Regions from separate parts of the Homo sapiens genome. Here region 1 is linked to region 2. The links are contacts of gene promoters, found by promoter capture Hi-C in blood cells and fetal thymus (Javierre and others, 2016). All regions are on one chromosome and are shown on one strand. The core of a region is centred on a gene start or on the middle of the fragment in contact, and the rest is flanking DNA. Distances in the headings are between cores, read along the strand shown. Region 1 overlaps LINC02235 (long intergenic non-protein coding RNA 2235). Region 2 holds the start of CHMP4C (charged multivesicular body protein 4C).

What was found. The method cuts DNA at HindIII sites, captures the fragments that hold promoters and counts their contacts. A CHiCAGO score of 5 or more calls a contact.
Region 1: a contact is called between a fragment that was not itself captured here and the fragment with the promoter of CHMP4C in region 2, in 1 of 17 cell types (total CD8 T cells). The highest score is 5.3, in total CD8 T cells.

What each region holds. Positions count from the first base shown.
Region 1 is chr8:81,871,549-81,878,717 of GRCh38, forward strand. It overlaps LINC02235 (long intergenic non-protein coding RNA 2235), which reads left to right. Exons shown (of 8, transcript NR_170320.1): 7 at 1,854-1,970. Among named protein-coding and RNA genes, the nearest start is that of LINC02235, 33 kb to the left of the region's middle. The HindIII fragment of the contact is 4,389 bases long and covers 1-4,355 here.
Region 2 is chr8:81,728,979-81,736,684 of GRCh38, forward strand. It overlaps CHMP4C (charged multivesicular body protein 4C), which reads left to right and starts at 3,470. Exons shown (of 5, transcript NM_152284.4): 1 at 3,470-3,838. The coding sequence starts at 3,649. The HindIII fragment of the contact is 11,241 bases long and covers 1-4,515 here.

The DNA.
Region 1 (7,169 bases), core at 911-3,410, 140 kb after region 2:
TTCAATTGTAATCCTGTATCAATAATCAAGAATATTAAATTTCCTTTTTGATTCAATTGTAACATTGATACCTTTGCAATTTTTCCTCATTTCCTTTCTTATGCTTTGGCAACTAACTAAACTTTTCTTTTTTAAATTAATTCCCAATTTTTAAGTTTTTCATAAAACTTTCCCATTTAATTGAATGTGGTAGGAAATTTGCAATTTTTAATGAGTATTCATAATGTACACTCAAGAATAAATAGCCACACCACTGTAGAGCTATCTTTCTCTTTTCCTTTCTCCACTGGCGCTTTGAAAACTTGCTGGAAGTGCTGAGGTTAATTCAGCATATTACTATCTGCCCTTCCCTTCTCCTACCCTATCTAGTTTCCTTCATTCCTGGTCTCCAAATTTCATATGATATCAGTGCTTGTCTGGTAACGGTCGGGGATGGGGTCAGGATAGGTGGTAATGTAGGTATTGGCATGGAAATATAGCAGGGAGATTTGGAATCTATATATCACAGATAGCAAGAAGCATAGCACAAGAAGCAGGAATGAATTGGAATGAAAATGAGAGAAAGAGAAAACAATGGGTCATGCTGTTACTCCTGACTAACAAAACCTCTCTGTGGTTCCGTGCTTCTTTTCCCATTCCTCAGAACTCTTCTTCCTCTCAAACCACCTCTCTCATCCAACCTCGTCTTAATTATTTTCCTTTCACCAGCTGTCAGTTTACAGATTATTCTTAGAACAGTGGTTCTCAAACTTTGGATTTCAGGACCATTTCATGCTCTTTAAAATTACTGAAAGAATCCCAAAGAGCTTTTGTTTTTGTGAGTTACACAGGAGCTCTTTGTCACCATCATATTGAACTTGTTTGGTCTCAGTATGGAATTCACAAGTTATCATGTCAGGTCAGTCGAGTGATTCTTTTTGTTTTCTTTGTGTTTTTGTTGCTCTAACTGGAGTGGGACCATATGATGCAGTGTGGATAGCTGCATACAAGCATTAAGACTCTTGAGAAAATACAGTGCACCAGGAAAACTACTATGAAAACTATCAGAGAATAATGGCAAAAGACTGAATAAAGTGCACTCCTAATAGGAACTCTCCTGAACTGAACAAATTAAAATCAGACAAATTTTTAAAATAAGTCAGAAGATGAATCTACTTGTTTTAACCAAGTAGCTTGTTTGTTGATTTCTTAAAATGGAGCTGCTGTCATACCAGACACATGTATCCAAGTGCAGCAAGAGATCTTAGCCATCACTCCCCATCTTCTGCCAGCCTCCCCACCCACCCTGCCCCAGTTCAGCCAACAGGTAGTCCAAAGCAATGCCGTTATCTAAAACAATCTTAGCAAGAGGATTTTTAAAAGGTTGCTGGGCAACTAAAGCCTTTGCAGTTGAGTCAGATATAGTAGCTAATGTTTAAGACAGAATTTTAATAATAACTTTACTTACATTTATGCCAATCCAGGGAAGGAGTATTCTACCAAAAATGCTCTCTAAATCTCAAGATCTCTCTACATGAGATATTTATGACTGCTGACAAATTCCTCTTTATTTTATAGAACAAATTAAGAGGTGTAGACCAATATTTAGTTTCCAATTGGTTATGGAGTGACAATAGTACTGTTAGAACTTCTAATCCACATTGGCCTCTTATTTTCCACTTATTGAGATATAAAGTTGTCCATGCATGCAGTTGATGATTAAATGCTCCACACATAAAATATCTCCTGGAAGGGCACAATAGGTAGTTCCCTGCGGGATGCCTGTGTGTTAGAGGTTACCAGTAGGGAAGCAATGGTAGTAATATTTATCCAAGGCTTCTTTGTCTTTCTTCTTTTTTTTTTTTTTTTGACAGTTTCACTCTTGTTGCCCAGGCTGGAGTGCAATGGTGTGATTTCAGCTTACTGAAACCTCCACCTCCTAGGTTCAAGAGATTCTCCTGCCTCAGCTTCCCGAGTAGCTGGAATTACAGGTATGTGCCACCATGCCCCGCTAATTTTGTATTTTTAGTAGAGATGGGGTTTCTCCATGTTGGTCAGGCTGGTCTCGAACTCCCAACCTCATTATTGCATGGTTGGAAGCTACTGACAGTTAAGGAATTGGGGTTATAAATTTGTCTATAAACTTTCAAATTATCTTTCTTTTGGTTTTCTTATTTTCTGGCATACTTTAACTACAAAACCCTCACTATGGGTTTTGCCTATTGTTAGATCTAAACAGTTAGATTTAAACATGGAACTTGAATATCTGACTCTAAAAGCCTCACGTTATAGAAAGCACCAGATGTGAAATTTGAATAAATAGTCACACTGAAAATAATGGTGAAATTTGTTACAGGGTAAACTTAAGGATCTCTAAAATCACGTAAGGGTTTAGGTTTAACATGACATATCCAACATTTAGTGCATTTCTCTGTGGAAGCTGTTGATTATCACAGAAGCCTTAATTATCACATTAGCTTGCCACATATAAGCAGAAAAGAAACACAGGGCAAAGTGGAAAAATAACAAAGGTTTCATGATGACAGAGGAGAGAAATTTTGATCTGTGACCTTGGAAAAGCTGTCCACACCTAGGATGTTGTCTGACTCTGAGGAGAAACCTCTCTGGTAAGTGTTATCTTGAGGTTTCCAACAGGAGTACAGTCCCAAGAGTTTGGAGAGATTCTCTTGAATTGAGAAATGTAGACCTAATACTCAAGGCCCTAAAATTTTGCTGCAGTGTGGCTGGTGAGAAGAACTTGGGATGATCCCTTCCTGTGGGGTTCAAGAGCAGTCTTTCTCCGGTGTCATTTCCAAAAGATCCAGTCTCCAGGTTCTAGGTCATAAAAGGTTTGTTTGTCCTCAGTTGGTGGATCATGAATGTTTTCTTTTAGTTGGTGAAAATATACTTTGGCATAACAACAATCATTGTTTCTTGATATATTCGGGTGTTCCAAAATATATGTAATAGTGTTATATCTGGAAAAAAGCCATGGTTTTTCTGTATTTTATTTTCATAGCCAATGTACTGCTTTACAGAAATACTTTAAAATACTGGAGTTTCCACTCCAGCCTGGGCAACATTGCAAGACTCCATCACAAAAAAAAAAAAAAAAAAAAAGCTGGAGTTTCTACCTATTAATATAAATTTTTCCAAGAAAAAGATAAGGGACAACATTAAAACTTCACAATTATACTGTAACCCTTGACTGTGTTTTCAGAAGTTGTTTGGGATGAATAAAATTGTTCAGGTTGTAATGAGTTTTAGAGAAGATGAGGAAAATGGATGAATTGGAAAATAAAGTATGTCTCTTAATTGAAAAGAGACTATGATTGTTTCTTTCCTATCTAAATCAAATTATTATGACAGTGGTTTCAGGCAATTAGAAAGAGGAATTATTCTCTGGAAATAATGACCTCATTATATAACAAAAAAATACAAGTAAAAAAAACTTCAGTTGTCCTTCCACTAAAATAAATGATTTAAAAAGTGAAAATATTCGTATTGTTTATCTGCAGAATTCATTTTTTTCCTCAAAATAATATACATATAGACATTAGAAGATAGGTGTCTGATTTTTTTTTTTTGAGATAGGGTTTCACCCTATTGCCCAGACTGGAGTGCAGTGGCATGATCTTGGCTCACTGCAGCCTTGACTTCCTGGGCTCAAGCAATTCTCCTACCTCAGTCTTCTGATTAGCTGGGACTATAGGCATGTGCCACCACACCCAGCTCATTTGTGTGGGTTTTTTTTTTTTTTTTTTTTTTTTTGTACAGACAGGGTTTTGCCATGTTGCCCAGGCTGATCTCAAGTGATCTGCCCGCCTTGGCCTCCCAAAGTATCAGCATTACAGGCATGAGCCACCACAACTGGCCAGGTATCTGATTCTTTACCAGAATTTTCATTTGGGCCACTATGATATATAAACTACCTAGGCAAAGGAAGTGAAACTATATAAATACATAAAATATTGCATAAATATTTAGGGTAAAATGTTTATGATTTTATGGGTTTATTTTCATAAAAGTTTCAGGAAATTAATTATTAAATTTATAACTTGAATATAATTTTAAATTTAGAAATATAATCTACATTTTCATATCATACATACTAATAAAAACACAATCCCAGAACATGAATGAAACAGTACATTGGACATTGAGTGTCTCAAATATTGATGCTTTTATAAAGATGCCATCATGTGCCATCTGGGAGAAGAAATACTTTCAACAATTTATTTTTTAACTTTTAGGGAAAATGATCTCCCTAAACTCCAGTAGTCACTAGACTTTTTAATAATGTGAAAAAGTACCAATTTATAGCCTCAAGAACAAATACTAATTGTCCAAATCCGGATGTTAGAAATAATTCCTAAAGCTTTCAATCATTTTGCTTTTCCCATTTACCAGTACATGGACCATGCAAACATTATTCAGGCATAGCTTTTCAACTCATAGAATTATCTTGATCATGACTTCCACATTTTGGAAATGAGGAAATTTGGTAAAATCATGTAATAATACTTATTTGCCTGTCTATTGATCCATATCTATCTAGTTAAAATATCTATTGATTGATCTGCCAATCTATTCATATGTCTCTTACCAGTCTACCTATGGCACATACACAGTGCATGCTGCTGTTCCTTCTACTGAACACATACTATCTTCTGCATATATACAGTGTTAGCTATCCTTTTCTATTTTTGTATAACGTTCTATAGATTGAATATTTAGAATAGAGGAATTTGGGGGTTAAATGCTCATAGAATCATATCAAGTCAATTCATCCTTAAATTGTGGGTATTGTTTGAAATATTTTCTTTGTTTTGAACCAGAACTTCAAATTCTAACCTTTGAGCCTCATTCTTCTAAAAAGCAGACCTAATCTTTCCTGAAATACTGATCTCGTTTCTAGCCCTAGTGTTTGTTTCTCCTTTCATCTTCAACCCAACCCTCTCCTACAGGCTTTCACACCAAGCTTTGGGGCTTTGTTTTAGGTACGTATCTCTAAACAAAAAATGTGTGTGTGTACAAATACACATATGTACCATCTCTTTATGGTTACTTTTCTTTCTGTGTTTTGGCTATTAATCTTATTCTCCACAAGTCTTAGTTGCAAACAATTCCTAAAGTTGTCACATGTGTTTATAACAATGAGTAGAAAAGGGGTAAAACAATAAATTTGAGATGATAAACCAATATGATTAAAAACAACCTTATAATTCTAATTCAGATTCCTTCTGTATGCTGCTTTCAAATGTAAATCTTCCAGAAATAGCCTTGCTCAAATCAGTTTCTCAAAACTTTTCATCAGCTCCACACTGTTTAAGGAATAAAGTACAAATAGTGTAAAATACCCTTTCATCCATCTTGCCAACTTTACCTACCACAATTTTTTTCATCAAAAACTTTAACAAAATATATCTGGTCATTATTTCCTAGTAGTCAGGCTATTGCAGAGGAGCCAGGATGCCTACGTTTAATTTTTACTTTGCCATCTCCTCACTGCATACTTTGTATACATTTGTTAAATTGACTCTATTTAACTAAAAAATTATGCCGCACTAAAAAACTAGTAATAATATTTATGCTGTAGGATTATTTTACAGAGAAAAAGTTGTAATACATGTAAAAACACAAAATTGTGCATGGCACATGGTAAGAATTCAATGTATATTAGCAAAAAATGGCAGGTATGCCTCATTGAGTTTACTTTTAAGTACCATTCATTTTTCCTATAAAATCATTACTTTTTTTCTCTTTGTTTAAGCCCTCCCTTCCTTCAAGACGTATTTCATCCTTTAGTGAAGGATGTAATATCTTTTATCCTTCAGCAATATCTCTTCTTCTGAACTTGTGTGTTTCTTCTCTGTGTCATTGATGCAGGGCTTAGGTAGGGTGACCACATTATTTTTATTGTTCAGGTTGGGACTGTGGATATGGAAAGTGAGTACTATTGATTATTAAACTGAGATAACAGGCATAGATTGGATGTGACCAGGGCAAAGGGACAGATGGTTACCCTATGAATAATGGAACCGTAAGTGATCAAACCTGTTATTATCAAATCAAAGCAAACTTTATCTTTGTATGCAAATTATTATGGCAAATATCCCATCAACTTAATTATCAGGAAATGAGAGTCATCAAAATGAACCTTAGCTGTTTCTGGCTATTCCCAGAGTACTGGTTCTCATCTGGTCCAGCACAAACCCTTATGTTTCTCCTGTTCAAGCTTCTTCATTTGATCCTCACGCTTCTGTCTTCTTGACTGCTGATCTTTAGTAGAGGGCCACTCCACCTGGTGCGGCTGCGTTAGCCAGCTCCACCGACTCTAACTCTCTCCTCTCCACCCTCACACTCACATCCTTTTCCAGGGTCTAGAGAGAAGAAACTGCTCTCACTTGTATCATTCCTTCCCAAAATGCAAACAGCAGGCCTTTCTTAATTATCCACAACAAAACTGAGACCATTATACTATTTGCTTAGGCTTTAATGAAGCATCATGGATAAAAGAAGTGTTTATATCAGAGAATTCCTAACAACCATTACCCCTAAATATGCCCACATCTGTAGTGACATGGGTTGGCTGTGTACCCATCCACCCATCCAAATCTCATCTTGAATTGTAGTTCCCATAATCCCCACATGTCATGAGAGGGACCAGGTGGAGACAATTGAATCATGGGGGAGATTTCCCCCATCCTGTTTTCGTGATAGTGAGTGAGTTCTCATGAGATCTGGTGGTTTTATAAGGGGATTTTCCCCCCCTTTTGCTCTGCACTTCTCCTTGCTGCCATGATGTGAAGAAGGACGTGTTTGCTTTCTCTTCTGCCAGGATTGTAAGTTTTCTTAGGCTTCCCCAGACGTGTGGAACTGTGAGTCAATTAAATATCTTTCCTTTATAAATTACCCAGCTTTGGGTATGTCTTTATTAACAGCATGAGAATGGACTAATATAATAGTTACTTATAAGCTTATTCTTTGCCTTGTTTTCAGCCTTTCTCCTCTGACCAGGGACAGCTCAAACCCTACCATTTGAACCACTCCATAATTCTCAGATTTTTTTTCATTCATCAAATAGTCCTTAGAAAGAGGCAAGTTTCCTCTATAATCCAGCTCTCCGCTCACACTCTCTGGTTTAACCCCTTTTAGGATCATTGACAATAGTAAAAATGCTCCTTTTT
Region 2 (7,706 bases), core at 2,220-4,719:
ATGAATTCTGCAGTATGTTTAAAGAACAATCCTTCTTCTGTTGCCTTAGAGAGTTCATTTGGCATTGTAAAAGTGGACGTAATTTCAAGGGGTGGCCAAAATGTATCAATTAGCCTGACAACTAGGTCTTTTTAACAGATCTATAAATTTCAGTTTCCTTTGCCCTGTTAATCATGGTAAATTATCCTGAACAAGATCATTCTTTTGAACAACAGCCTCTTATTAGCTGAGATCAATTGAGATCAGAAAATGAAAAATACACTAGATGCTAAGAACTCTTTGTGAAACCACATTTGTAGGATGAGAACTGAATGAAGATTAATGTGTTATTTTTGGCTTCTAAATCAGTGATTTAAAAACTTATTTTCTACATCCTGCTGCTGGATTAAACACTAATATATATTTGGTTGGTTTACTTGCTTGCAAGTATTATCTTTTCCTCTTTGAGCTTATGTATTAATGGAAGGAAATGATTTTTAATTTAAATGTATCTTGCTTTGCACACCACATGTGTTTCTGAAAGAGCTACACATTAAATTGGTTAAATTGATTATTTTTTCCTATGGAATTACAAATTAATGACTAGCTTCTTTGTTTTAATGTCTGATTGATTTTCATTTGCTTTTTCAATAAAATGCGGATCCTTAGCACATCATGTGGACCTTATGTAATCTGGACTCTGTCTACCTTTGTAGGGACCTCACCACACTCTCCTACTCTCCTCTTCTGTCTCCAAGCGCCAGCGACAGTGACCTTTTCTCAACCCCTAGTACTTCAAACTCAAGATTTTTGCACATATTGTTTAAAATTTTAATTCTCCAACATTCTTTGCCTTGTTTTTTAAAATATAGTACACATAGTACATTGCTATCTTAATTGTCCATCTTCCCTTAGCTAGAAAGTAGGCTCCAAAAATGAATGTATTTTTGTCTTTTTATTCACTGCTGAATCTCTACATCTAAAAGTGATGAATAAATGAATAAATAAATTGGTAAATGAATAAGGAATTCCTTATAATGGAATACAAATTTCCCTTCCCTAAAACCAGGTAGCTTCTATTCATCATTCAAATTCTAGCTTAAATATCACTTTTTCAGGCCACTCTGACCCCAAGACAAGGTCAAGTTCCTCTACTATTTATTCTTATAGATCCTGTACTTCTCTATATAATTTATTAGAACCCCAACTTATGAAGTTTATTGTTTGTGAGATAATTTGCTTAATTTCTGTGTTCTCCCCTAAGCTGTAAGCTCTGTTGGAACAGACAATGTTTCTTACTCTTACCTGTATCCCCAACACTAGCACAATGCCTGGATCATAGAGACACCTAATAAGCATCAGTTGAATGAAACCATGGATGTGTGGATTAGGCAATTCCTCAGTTATAACTTTGTCTCTCTGTTCTACTGTCCAATGTTCTCACAACAAAAAAAGTAACTAACGAACCCCAAAGAATGCCTTAGTATTCTGGATAAGTTCTTATTTAAATGCACTCCTCCATGAATTCAATAATGCTTGGAGGATCCCTTAAAGATAATGCCTAATAATTACCTCTTCACCCCATGCTATTTAATTAAACAAATACTTAATGAGTTTTTCCTCTAGTCCAAGTTGCACAGAGGGAAATACCATCATGTAAATAGTGAAAAGACCATGCGTTTTCAAACAGAAAGATCTCTTTCACTTTTGCTGCCTGTTAAATTTGGTTAAGTTATCAACTGAGCCTTGGGTTCTTCTTCTGTCTAACAGAAACAGCAATACCTATTTTGCAGGGTTTATGTAAGGATTAGTGATAAGCATATATTTATTGATAAGCCTGACACATAGTCAGTGCTCAAAAGATGGTAGCTGTTATTACTGTCACTGGAAGGTAAGCTCTTAGAGGGCAGACTATACTTGCATTCCCTGTACCTTACACTCAATAAAGGCTAGTTAAACTGAAAAGCAACGGGAACAATAGCAGAATATGTGCTACTTCTCAACTCTCAAGGGCCTTAAAAATCTAATCAAGAAAATACACTCCAAAACTTATTCATGAAATATTTAGATAATAAAGAAAAACAATACTTACGACAACTTATACATGAAATTAGAGCAAAATGTGTGTTATAGACCATACATGCTTTACATGGCCAGCCAGGAAATGATAGGAGGTGGCTGGCTGCAGTTACTGTGAAATGATAAGTTCACATATTTGTGTGTTAGAAGATGCTTACTGTAAGCCTCCTATGGAAGTGTTCAATTTCTTTGGCAAAATTTTATGCTATCTATGCCAATGTTGGATAAATAGATTAACTTGCTGCTTTGTGTTTGTATGCTTGCAGACAAAATTGTGTTATTGATCTTGGGTATCAAGGTGAATTTGTCAGAGTAATGGGTGTTTTTTTTTTTTTTTTTTCTCTTAAACAGTGGCTGGCTAACAATCAAAAATAGGTTTTGGTAATGTTGGGTAACGTTGCTCAAATACGGCTATATTATGCAGAGCACATGGCAATCGTTGAAGAGTAAAACACAGATAATTCCACTTCTTTGTAGTGTGCTTGACACAGGTTTGCAGCAGTATTGCATCATCTATAAGCATTACATATGGCTGTCCTTTCATCTTACTAAATTATTTGCCAGCAGATCTAATAGATGGGCTGAGATAGTGAGCATGAACAAAAGAATGTTTCTCTTCTCCAGGATATTCTCTACTTTTTGTTACTTAAGTATCTATGTAATAGCATTTGACATACAGCCAAACACCAGGGCAGCCCCATTTAAGGTTTTTGATACACTGAGGATCATTCAGAAAACTTCGGATTCCTAGTTATAGAGTTGAATCCAACCACCAACACACTCCAGAAGTCCTGACATTAGGAAAAGAGATGGCCACCATCTTTCACCCACTTCAAGTCCTGTAAGGATGATCTAGAATCTACACTGTGCCAACTAGCATCCAGGCACACATCAACCTGCCCGGACTACCAAATGCAGAAACAAGCCCAGTAGCAGCAGCTGCTCCGAGCTTGCCCACACACCTGCATCCTAGTGGCAGACAAATATCCTGGAAGCCTTTGTGTCCACACACTCATACCTACATGACATACACTTAGAGGAAAAGATCTGAATATTCTTATTCACAAGAACAGAGGCCTGAATACAGGAACACTATGCTCACGTACACACAAAAGACACGCATGGAATAAAGCATTTTGCATATCCAGTCTTGCGCACTTACACTTTCAGGTCCTGCACAAGACCCCTGGACATCGGTTTGCTTTTCTTTGAGCCATTCACAAACTAGTTCCTCGTTCCTGGGACCGTCCCTAGTGTGGATAAAAGCCAACTTCCCACAGTCTTTGTCGGTCTTTTCAACTTTTCTCTGCTCTCGCTCAACTCCCAGAGGGCCGGGTGGCGCCGGCCAGCCGACGTCCCAGCGGTGGCCTCCCCGCCCAGCCGCTGTGCAGCGGGGCGGGGCCGAACTGGCAGCCAGGAAATGCCCTGGAGTGTGTGTCACCTGTCCAGGACGACTTGTTGATTCCCAGGAGGGCCGCCTTTCCGGTCTGGGTCCCCGAGAGGACTGCCTTGCTCACCTGTCCCCTCGGCGCGGCCCCGGGGAGCTCCCGAGAGGCCCCCGGGATCGCTGGCCCTCCGAACTCCACAGCAATGAGCAAGTTGGGCAAGTTCTTTAAAGGGGGCGGCTCTTCTAAGAGCCGAGCCGCTCCCAGTCCCCAGGAGGCCCTGGTCCGACTTCGGGAGACTGAGGAGATGCTGGGCAAGAAACAAGAGTACCTGGAAAATCGAATCCAGAGAGAAATCGCCCTGGCCAAGAAGCACGGCACGCAGAATAAGCGAGGTAGGCTGGGGTCTGGCCCACAGGCGGGAGCCCATCTGCCTCTAGCCTTTCCCTTGGGGACAATCGGCCCACACCACTGAGGTCCCCAGGTGGCCAGGTTTGCTCCTGCAGTCTTTTCTAGGAACTGGTACTGACTCTTAGGGCACTGACTAGGGTGAGTTGAGCTAGACACTGGCACTGATGGCAAAATGTAAGGGGCCGCCAAAAATCTCAGTAATCAAGATGAACAATACTTTAATGCAATACCTAAAGGACTCAGAACCAATGCCAAAAAAGAAATGATGAAGAAAATATCAAAATTTTAAATAAAGACAAGATTGGTATTGATTTTTTTCATTTGCCTCTAGCTCTTATGTTGTTATGTGCAGCACATCTTTATTTAAAATTATTTTTTATAATGTGATGATTTGTTCATCGTGGATTTTTTAATATTAATTTTGAATTTTAAAAATATTGCATTAAAATATTATTTGTCTTGATTACTGAGTGTTTTCGCACCCCTGTAAATTTTGCTCCTGGTCCAGCTTTTTCTAGGCCAGCCTTGCTGACTCCAACACTAACCATGAAGTTTTCTGCTGTATGTTTGTATATTAAATTACACATTTTAACTTGCACGTAAATCTTCAGAAAAGGATATTCTAGTACGTTGTGGTCTACCTTGCTCCTCAGCTGTGGAAAGCTTTAGCTGGATGTTCGGCAGTTGAAGTCTTAAAAAAAAAAAAGGTAGAGGAATTAATTATTAAATTTCCTATCACTGACTTTTGGCACACACAAGAGACTTTGAGTCAGTAATGATTCTTGGTGTTCCTGTTGCACCTTGAACACCTGTTCTTTGCCAGAGTTAACTGATTTCTTCAGTATACTGCTCCTTCTATTGGAATACCTCTAAACAGCACCTGTGGCACAGATAAAAACTCAGTGAGAAGTTGAAGTGATTTGCTCTTGTAACACCGGGTTCATGGCAGACCCAGAAAAGGAAGTGGCAATATCGGACTCTGCTTACCACCAAACCCAAACATTTGCACCCTCAAGTTGGGCTTCTTTAGTCATAATGAAGCCTTGGGAAGATTTGGCTCACTCTACAGGATGCTGCCATTGTTTAATGCAGGAAAGGAATGAAGTCTCAAGGAGATGAACTTGAGAACTCTGCCTCTTTCTGTAAAAGTGTGCCAGCTACATTTATGCCCACTTACCACCAACAATAAGAAGGCTGTTTTATTGCATATAACTTTTGTGCATATTATAGCCTGTTTTAGAGGTAAGTACTGATTTCTACTTTTACTTTGTGTCTGAAAATATTCTGGGAAGTTATGCAATGGCAATTTCTAAAGAAAGACCATGTCATTATGGCTTGCTAAAAATGTTGTTGGTCATTTTGCTCCTTGGCCCTTCCTCTTCAGTTTGATACACACTCTGACGTTTGCTTAGTGTCTGTCAAGGGTTTTCTTCCCTTTGCCATCTATTTGGATCTGTGTACAGCTTTGTCTACCATGGTTGCTCAGCAAATATTGGTGGTGGTTGTTGTTGTTTTGAGACAGAGTTTCACTCTTGTTGCCCAGGCTGGAGTGCAATGGCGCGATCTTGGCTCACCGCAACCTCTGCCGCCCAGGTTCAAGCGATTCTCCTGCCTCAGCCTCCCGAGTCGCTGGGATTACAGGCATGTGCCACCACACCCAGCTAATTTTATATTTTTAATAGAGACAGGGTTTCTCCATGTTGGTAAGACTGGTCTCGAACTCCTGACCTCAGGTGATCCACCTGCCTTGGCCTCCCAAAGGGCTAGGATTACAAGTGTGAGCCACCGCACCTGGCTGATGTTGGTTTTAAAAATCTAAAAAATTGACCATTTCCTTCTAGGAAGTGGTAAAAATGTAAATTTGTTTTCAAAGACAGAGTGCAAAATAATGTGGGTTTTACTGATTTTTTTCAGAGGTACTCTTCAATTGGCAATGCACAAAAATTCGATCTCAATTTGACTTTATGAATAAAGACAAAAAATTTAAAGACAGTGCTAATTAAGACTACCAATCTAACTTCCTTAAATCAAGAAAGTTATAGATGCAAGTATGAATGGCAAATAAGTTTTTTTTTTTTTGAGACAGGATCTTACTCTATCGCCCAGGCTGGAGTACAGTGGCAGGATCTCAGGTCACTGCAGCTTCCAACTCCTGGGTTCAAGTGATTCTCCTGCCTCAGCTTCCCGAGTAGCTGGGATTACAGGCGTGCACCACCATGCCCAGCTAATTTTTGTATTTTTAGTAGATACGGGGTTTCACCATGTTGGCCAAGCTGGTCTCAAACTCTGGGCCTCAAGTGAACCTCCTGCCTGAGTCTCCCAAAGTGCTGGGATTACAGGTGTGAGCCACTGCGCCTAGCCCTAATTTTTAATAGAAAAGTCATTAACTCTGTCTTCAGAAGCTTCACTGGTGTTAGTGTCTAGAAACTCCCAGAGCTTCTAGAGTGACTCTGGGAGTAAGAAGAGGCTGGTTAGCATGAGGTCATCTGTAATCTAAGCTATGGAAAGAATTCAATCTTAGGCTCCTGCGTTGGTAACACGCTCAATATCAGAACCTTCTAAATAAACCAGATAACTTCATATACTTCATAACTTCATATACATAGTTAACTGTCTTCTATTAGCCACCAAGTGATATAAAATAGTAAAATAAAACCTGATATACTTACTACTAAATGGCCCCTGTGTGGCACAATGCCATTGCTAGAATGGCTGTAATTTATATGATAATCAGGGTGACATAATTTATGTGCAATTGAAGTTTTATTATTAGAGATGGTTGGTCAGCTAATATATTCTCTGAATGGCCAGGTAGCATTATATCAGAAAAGGCCACACTCCTAGCCATTTCAGATTCTTCAAAGATCAATTTCTCTACAACAACAGAAGCTTTGACAGCATTCTAAATGTCAAAATGAGTTTTACTGGTAAAATGAAAAACTTTTAATTAGCATAATAAATGTTAGAAATGGGGCAGGACATGGTGGCTCATTCCTGTAATCTCAGCAATCTGGGGGGCTGAAGTGGGCAGATTACTTGAGGTCAGGAGTTTGAGACCAGGCTGGCCAACATGGTGAAACCCCATCTCTACTAAAAGTACAAAATTAGCCGGATGTGGTGGAGCGTGTCTGTAATCCCAGCTACTTGGGAGGCTGAGGCAAAATAATTGCTTGAACCTGGGAGGTGGAGGTTGCAGTGAGCAGAGATCGCGCCATTGCACTCCAGCCTGAGCGACAGAGTCAGACTATGTCTCAATAAATAAATAAATAAATAAATAAATAAATAAATAAATAAATAAATAAATAAATGTTAGAAACGGGATCTCACTGGTGAATTTTTTTGAGACAGGGTCTCGCTTTGTCACTTAGGCTGGATTGCAGTGGTGTGATCAGGGCTCACTGCAGCCTTGACCTCCGAGACCCAAGTGATCCTTCCACCTCAGCTTCCTGAGTAGCTAGCACCACAGGCACGCACTACCACACCCAGCTATTTAATTTTCTTTTTTTTTTGTATAGGTGAGGTCTCCCTATGTTGCCCAGGCTGGTCTCAAACTCCTGGGCTTAAGCAATTCTCTTGCCTCATCCTCCCAAAGTGCTGACAAGAGCCACTGGGCCTGGCCTAATTGGTGAAATTCTACATATTCTAAATATGTGGATTGCTAAAACAGTTTAGAGACACTTCCAATACCCTCCGCACCCACCCCATGTATGAACAGGATGAATCTACTAGGTGTGTAATTAACTTAACACTAGAATGGTGCCTGAAACTAGATCTCAAATCAGTGCAGTGTCCAGTCCTTAGTTTAGGTGGGTTTCTGATGGTGCGCACCTCTAATAGGGCACAGCACCTGCC